2 separate regions of the Homo sapiens genome follow, and region 1 is linked to region 2. The links are contacts of gene promoters, found by promoter capture Hi-C in human tissues and cell types (Jung and others, 2019). All regions are on one chromosome and are shown on one strand. Each heading gives the region's core, a stretch centred on a gene start or on the middle of the fragment in contact. The rest is flanking DNA. Distances are from core to core; before and after follow the strand shown. Region 1 overlaps SORD (sorbitol dehydrogenase). Region 2 holds the start of SERF2 (small EDRK-rich factor 2).

Region 1 (3,910 bases), core at 850-3,349, 1.2 Mb after region 2:
GCTTTCCACTGTATTTACCAGTTTAATTACTGTATGCCCCTTTGATCAGTCTATTGAGACCCAGAAGCTTTTAATTAGGAAATGAATTATGGATTCATGAAGTTAGAATATAAAATAGTCAAATTAGTTTTTACCCCATAGAAGCTATGTTTGGTGGTGGGGGTGGTGGGAAGCTTGTTTTTACAATGTAGGGTTCACTCGAATGGTAAGGAAATGCGGGGAATTAATATATTGACTGCCTACTGCATTCCAGGCATGTGCTGGGAACTTTAATACAGGGCTTTACAAACTGTCCACAATGAAGGGCCAATTTTACTTTTTCCAGTCGGCCATGGACTGATATGTTTGCATCAATATATTTGAATGCTGTGTCACGTCAAAATGCTATAAACAGCCAGGCACGGTGGCTCATGCCTGTAACCCCAGCACTTTGGGAGGCCAAGGCGGGCAGATCACTTGAGGCCAGGAGTTTGAGACCAGCCTGGCCAACATGGCAAAAATCCTGTCTCTACTAAAAATACAAAAATTAACTGGGTGTGGTGGTGCACAACCTGTAATCCCAGCTACTCAGGAGGCTGAGGCACGAGAATCACTTGAATGGGGAGGCAGAGGTTGCAGTGAGCCAAGATCATGCCACTGCACTGCAGCGTGGGTGACAGAACAAGACTCTATCTCAAAACAAAAACAAACAAAAAAATTATATAAACATTTCTAAATGCTCCTCTCAATTTCTGTACATTGCATTACAAATCAGTTCATCAATCACCCTCTGAGTGCACTTTATCTCCCTTCTTCCTGAAAGCTGGCTCTTCCTTCAGGCAGGAGCATCTGAACAGGGAGAAGTATAGGAACAAAACAGGCTCCATTTCCAGGAAACAACACCATGGAGGGGATGTAGTCAGATTTTTGTTATGATCAGCTATATGAGGAGACAATAAATTAAAGGGAAAAATAATAATTTCAGAATGATGGGTTAATGTTGTTTAATTATAAAGGGCAGAAAAATTAATATATTGGCATCAAGTTTAAACATTACTCGGAGGTCCATGAAGATATTTCTTGAGTTTTTGTCCATTGAGGCAACGTATTATACCTTAGGTCAAAAGAATTGCTTTGACCTAAGCATTTTTAAATACTCTTATTTATTTTTAAAAATAAGATAAATCTATATCTGTAATACAGCACATTCAAAATGTCTATACTTTACTGTTAAGATTTTGGGGTGAGAAGCGGATGGTATAATGAGAGGGCATGAACATGGGCAGCTCAGATGGTCCTGTGCATCATGTCTGTTTCTCTGAGCCAGCTGCTTCTATGTGATCAGATTAAAGGGGCTGATAGTCATGAAGCAGGAGCTGGATTAAACCAGATTACCCTGATAGTGATGAGATGCAGGCTACTTAACCCTTACAAGTCAGAGACACTTGAGAGTGAAAAGAGAATGTGAAAATCCTCCAGAAAAAGAGAAATTGGGTAGCAGTAAGTAGCCCAAAGAACCATCTTTCTTGCTTTTATCTTAATTATGTTTTAACAACAAAACAAAACCCAAACTGGACATACCATTTCAAATTCAAAACAGGAAATTAAATCCAGTAAACACTCCCACCTCCACCAACAGCTCTGGAAAGGCAATGCCTTTGTCTGTGAAAGACCATGAGGCACAAAGGTAGCATTTTCCTCTCAAAGTGATGCAAGCTTTTTCTTGGCCCCTTCGCCAGACCTGTGGAGTACTGGGCCTACCGTGCTCAACCCCTTGTGGGAGGGAGCACATGAATGAGTGAGTGCGGGATCCAGCCAGCTGCTCCAGGCACTGACACAGGAGCAAGCTCCTTGAGGGGAATGCAGCAGCACCCAGGTAAGGGTGTCCATGACCCTGAAGCCCCAGAGGGGCTGTTACAGTGCTCCTTTATTTCCACCGTCTGCAGATGGTGGCATGTTAGCAGCTCAGTTGGCCCCTTGCCTCGCTGCACGGGGCATGCCACTGGTGAGGGGCAAAGGGCCAGTTTGACAGCCTTTTCTGGGTACCTGTACTTGGTGGGCCCTGAGCTCTTGTCCAGTGTCCAAGAAGAATGAGGTCACGCAGATGATTGAAGGATGGTGAAGGTGGAGAATTTTACTGAGCAATGAAAATGGCTTTCAGCAGAGAAGGGAACTGGAGAGGGGATGGGAAGGGCAGGTCATCTTCCCAGAAGTCAGGTTGTCTCCTCCCCGAAGTCAGGTCATTTCCCCCTCTACCAACTGAGTCTGGGATCTTTATAGGCACAGGATAGGAAGTGCGTATTGATGGGTTTGTGAGTATGCAAAAAAGGTTAACGTGAAGACACCATGCAAAGGTGGGCAAAACAGTGTAGAAAACTACTTAGGAAAGGTTAGGTATATGTAAAATAGGTGAAGGGTGGGGATCAATCAGAGGAAAGCGTCCAAACAGGAAGACAAGTTCTTGATCCAGTCCCAGGATTTAACTTGTAGCTTGGCTTTCCGGCTTTAAACTGTCTTCTACTTGGAGGTGGAATTTCACTGGGTACCCACCCCTATCTGCCTAGGCATTTGGCCACCTCCTTTTGCTATCAAAAGCAGGAGAAGAAGCAAGCAATATCACAAATAGGATTTTACCATTCCATAAAAGCAGCCCTATTCTAAGGGGAGACCCTAGAATTATGGATGTAGGGGAAATTTCTCTTTAAAACTGCACAACAGAAATTAAGAAGGAGGAGAAATATGTACACGTAGATACAATATTAGCATCTAACTTAGAAGTCTTTTAGTGTGGCTGTTGAAGCTGGCAGTTTTCCCCAAATCAGGTTTGCACTAAGAACATTAATTACCAGGGAAAATACATTCAAATTTTGCAAAGTAATATTCAACTCAACAATTTTAAAAAACACAGAAATATTCAATTACATAGACCCGAACACAGTGAGCACTTATCAAGATCACGAACAGACTAGAGCATCTGACAAAGCTCAGAGACTTAGAATTTTTGCTCCATATATAGAACCATTTAATAAGATCATGTATGGTTATGTTCATACACTTTGAATTAGGAGGAAATTTTAATATATTTATCCCTGATGAAAATTAAATAGTCCTTAACTATCCTGTGTGGATTCAATGCTAGGTGCTGGAGAAGTGCAAAGGAGAGAAAGGAGTCACCTCTCCAGCCTGGTGAGGACAGGGGAGGCTTCTTGCAGGAGGTGATGCCTGAGCACCAGTCCCAGTAACCAACTGCCTGTTGAACAGCTGTCATGTCAGGTTCCAGCCTACTTGTGCTGACTCCGACCAGGAGCCCAGAGGTTTCACAATAACTCAATGGCCAATTAAATGTGAGGCTTTCACATACCAACGATCATGCAAATATATTCAACACACACAGGCAGTGATAGGGGAGGTCGGGGCAGCCATGGTGGTTCACACCTGTAATCTCAGCACTTTGGGAAGCTGAGGTGGGAGGATCACTTGAGGCCAGGAGTTTGAGACCAGCCTGGGAAAGACCTTGTCTCTACAAAAAATGTAAAAAGTAGCCGGGTGTGATAGCACACTCCTGTAGTCACAGCTACTCAGCAGGCTGAAGTAGGAGGATCGTTTGAGCCCAGGAGTTCGAGATTGTGGTGAGCTATTAATGTGCCAGCCTGGGCTACAGAATGAGAACCCATCTCTTAAAACAACAACAACGACAAAAAAAAAAAAACAACAGGGAATGAACCGTGGCAAGTAGCTCCAGAGACCAGCACGCTGACTGATGAACAGATTTGGATTTCCCTTGAAACAACAAAGTGGGAGGAGTGTTGTTGCTGTTCTTCTCCCAGCAGAACTTATGGCAGCCTCTGTTCGTGAGGAGGCCTCAGAGTTCTCACGGGCAGAGCTTCTACAGGCTCTCGGCCATGGTCACTTTCTTTGCTGTTTTTATACC
Region 2 (3,953 bases), core at 1,414-3,913:
GAATATCATCCTTGCGTGGAATCTGTTATTTTCCTTTAAAGCTATTATCATGATCAGTTTTCATATATAGGCTGGGCATGGTGGTTCAAGCCTGTAATCCCAGCACTTTGGGAGGCTGGGGTGGGTAGATCACTTGAGGTCAGGAGTTCGAGACCAGCCTGGCCAACATGGTGAAACCCTGTCTCTACTAAAAAAAAATACAGTCCGAGCACAGTGGCTTGCACCTGTTATCCCAGCACTGTGGGAGGCCGAGGCAGGTGGATCACCTGAGGTCAGGAGTTTGAGACCAGCCTGACCAACATGGTTAAAGCCTGTCTCTACTAAAAAATACAAAAATTAGCCGAGCGTGGTGGCACGCACCTGTAGGCCCAGCTACTCGGGAAGCTGAGGCAGGAGAATTGCTTGAACCTGGGAGGTGGAGGTTGCAGTGAGCCGAAATCGCACCACTGTACTCCAACCTGGGCGACAGAGCAAGACTCCATCTCAAAAAAAAAAAAAAAAAATTATCCGGGCGTGGTGGCGGGTGCCTGTAATCCCAGCTACTCGGGAGGCTGAGAAAGGAGAATCGCTTGAATACAAGATGGTGGAGGTTGCAGTGAGCCGAGAGCATACCACTCCAGCCTCCAGCCTGGGTAACAGAGTAAGACTGTCTCAAAAAAAACCAAAAATTCATATATATAGACAGACATATAAATACATATATGGATATTAGAGAGAGAGAGGCAGACAGGGAGAGGGAGAGAGAGAAAGTGTGAGAGAGCTTTTTTCTCTGTATCTTTCATGATTATAGGAATATGCTGTGCTCATCAAGATATACCCAATTGTGGCTGTGCACCGTGGCTCACACCTGTAATCCTTGCACTTTGGGGGGCCAAGGAGGGCGGATCACCTGAGGTCAGGAGTTCCAGACCAGCCTAGCCAACATGATGGAATCCCATCTCCAGAAAAACAAAAATACAAAAATTAGCCGGGCATGATGGCGGGTGCCTGTAATCGCAGCTACTTGGGAGGCTGAGGTGGGAGAATAGCTTGAACACAGGAAGCAGAGGTTGCAGTGAGCCGAGATCACGCCAATGCACTCCAGCTTGGGTGTCTCTTATTAACTGTTTATTTATTATTTATTTTGAGATGGAGTCTGGCTCTGTCGCCCAGGCTGGAGGGCAGTGGCGTGATCTCGGCTCACTGCAAGCTGCTGCTCCTGGGTTCACACGGTTCTCCGGCCTCAGCCTCTCAAGTAGCTGGGACTACAGGCGCCTGCCACCACACCCAGCTATTTTTTTTTTTTGTATTTTTAGTAGAGACGGGGTTTTACCGTGTTAGCCAGGATGGTCTCGATGTCCTGACCTCGTGATCCACCCGCCTCTGCCTCCCAAAGTGCTGGGATTACAGGCGTGAGCCACCTTGCCCAGCCTTTCTTATTAACTCTTTTTTTTTTGAGATGCAGTCTCGCTCTGTCGCCCAGGCTAGAGTGCAGTGGTGCGATCTCGGCTCACTGCAAGCTCCATCTACCGGGTTCACGCCATTCTCCTGCCTCAGCCTCCTGAGTAGCTGGGACTACAGGCGCCCGCCACCACGCCCGGCTAATTCTTATTAACTTTTTTTTTAGACGGGATCTCGCACTGTCGCCTGGGCTGGAGTGCAATGGCGCGATCTCGGCTCACTGCAACTTCCGCCTCCCGGGTTCAAGCGATTCTCCTGCCTCAGCCTCCCAAGTAGCTGGAATTACAGGCGCGCCACCACGCCCGGCTAATTTTTTGTATTTTTAGGGTTTTCACCATTGTTGGTCAGGCTGCTGGTCTCGAACTCCTGACCTTCTGATCTGCCCACCTCAGCCTCCCAAAGTGCTGGGATTACAGGCGTGAGCCACCACGCCCGGCCCTCCAGGGTCTTAATACAAAACCGGGTGGCTGGTGGCGATGGTACAGTAAGAAAAGCTCCAGAGGGGAAAAGCGAATATGTGAATTATCTAATCTCAGCCACTGATCCAACTCCATAGTCTGTGACTTTTGGAGTCCTCCAATACTTCCAAGCTGCATGTTCACATTTAAAGTTTCTGGGGGAAAACGAACAGGGTAGAGTTTTAGGAAATACCAGATGTTGCTGCGATTTTCTACAGTGAAGGGGCGTGGAAGGGGACAATGGGAGTAGAAGCGGGTTTCTGAAGTTGTGTTTGTACTTGATTTTAAGCGAGCTGTGAACAACTCGTGTCCAAATAAGTGGCTGAGAGGTGGTCCTAAGTAAGCACAAGTTTAGTAGTAGAGTACTCGTAACACAGAACTGGCTGAAACCCCGCCCTCTTGTCTACGGGCGTTCTTTCAGGGCGACTTTGTCAGTACCCCAAACTGTCCCCGCATGAGGTCACTCTGCACGGTCACGTGCTCGAGCCCGCGGGAGCGCCACATCGCCAGCCGCACCCCTCCACCCCCAACCTGCCCACGTGACCCGGCCTAGTTTCTCCAGGCCCGTCCCTACGTCTCACTCGGGAAGCCCCGCCCCACGCTGAGCGCTCCGCCTGCGACCCTCCGCCACTTACCCACCCCGGCTCAAGCACGACCCGTGGATCCACGTGCTTTTTCTTGTCCAATGGGAGCCGGCTCCCGGGCGCGAAGGGGCGGGGAGGAAAGGAACGACTGTGCTACGTTGCCAGAAGGGGCGGGACCTGCAACGTCCGACAGAACGAGGGGACGTAACGGAGGCAGGTTGGAGCCGCTGCCGTCGCCATGACCCGTGAGCACCGAGCCCCCTTCTCCTTGCCCTTTTCTTTCCGTTCACCCTAAACACCACCGGCGAGGCGCCGGCTTTGACCTTCCGTAGCTTCCCTAGCAAGGCGTTTCTCTGGGCGCGCTCTGTGGCCACCCTCACACTCGGTGCCCGGAAATCGAGCCCTTTGCCCACGGCTACTTCACGGGACCACCCTCCCGGGTTAGGCATAGGCCCTCCCGGATCTTCCGCGGTGTAAGGAGAAGGCCAGCGCCCCTGTGATAGGCCCAGAGCCCCCACTCCACAAGCCAGCCCATCCCCCACGGAGACCCAAACCGTCCACACACACCTTGCCAGCTGTTTGGGCCCCACGCCGCCCCAAAACACGCCTCCAGCTGGCCCCTTGGGACCTCCCTTCTCTAGTCCGTATTTTGACCTGGCCCGTGGCAGATTCGCCACTCCCCCCTACCCCAAGCAGCCTGGGCCTCGATGGGCCGTTGTCGGGGCCCGGAGATTGAAGTGGTGTTGGATCCTGCTGCTGGCCGCGCTGGGGTAGAAGGGTCGCCGGTGTGTGGGCAGAGCGGCCCCCGCGTCTCACCTTTAATTTTCTTTCCTTAGGCGGTAACCAGCGTGAGCTCGCCCGCCAGAAGAATATGAAAAAGCAGAGCGACTCGGTTAAGGGAAAGCGCCGAGATGACGGGCTTTCTGCTGCCGCCCGCAAGCAGAGGTAGCCCCAGGGAGGGGAGGGAAAGGGACGGTGGAGACCTGGGTTAGACCAAGGGTTATAGAAGGAAAGAGAGCTACCTCAGGGCTTGAATGTGGACTAGTCGTGAGGAGCAGAGTGCATTGCTTCCTCTAGGGTTTTATTTCCTCCCCACCCTCCAAATTGTTAGCTCACAGCCTTACAGGAAAGGACGGGGGCGGGCGCCTGCCCTCAGTCTGATTTCTGAGCGTCCCTGGGTCTGACCTTAAGGGCAAGGGCAGGGAGCTTCACATTTCAAATACAGTTGTGGTTACGGCAGCCCAGTACTTTTGGCCCTCCTTGCTGTTCGGTTCTCCTCCCTTCTCCCAACCTCCTCACTGGTGTTGCTGGGTGTGGTCCTCAATACAGAATAGAGACCCTTGGGCCTGTGTCACCAGACTTCTGACCCCTTGGGCAACAGCCAGATGGAGACTGGTCGCCTTTTGAGCCTCAGCTCTCTTCCTCTTGTTCTCCTAGGGTGGGAGTACAGCAGCCAAACGCTGAACTTAGT

The links. Contacts are between HindIII fragments. The study calls those that stand out against the background at their distance.
Region 1: a contact is called between a fragment that was not itself captured here and the fragment with the promoter of SERF2 in region 2, in 1 of the 25 tissues and cell types used here (lymphoblastoid cells).

Annotation. Positions count from the first base shown.
Region 1 is chr15:45,027,652-45,031,561 of GRCh38, forward strand. All of the region lies in intron 1 of SORD (sorbitol dehydrogenase), which reads left to right. Among named protein-coding and RNA genes, the nearest start is that of SORD, 6.4 kb to the left of the region's middle. RefSeq lists an enhancer at 3,620-3,910. The HindIII fragment of the contact is 5,495 bases long and covers 1-3,910 here.
Region 2 is chr15:43,789,657-43,793,609 of GRCh38, forward strand. It overlaps SERF2 (small EDRK-rich factor 2), which reads left to right and starts at 2,664. Exons shown (of 3, transcript NM_001018108.4): 1 at 2,664-2,727; 2 at 3,319-3,427. The coding sequence starts at 2,721. SERF2-C15ORF63 (SERF2-C15orf63 readthrough) reads left to right here and starts at 2,320. Exons shown (of 6, transcript NR_037673.1): 1 at 2,320-2,727; 2 at 3,319-3,427. RefSeq lists enhancers at 2,159-3,358, 3,147-3,476, 3,812-3,953 and a silencer at 2,347-2,426. The HindIII fragment of the contact is 8,897 bases long and covers 1-3,953 here.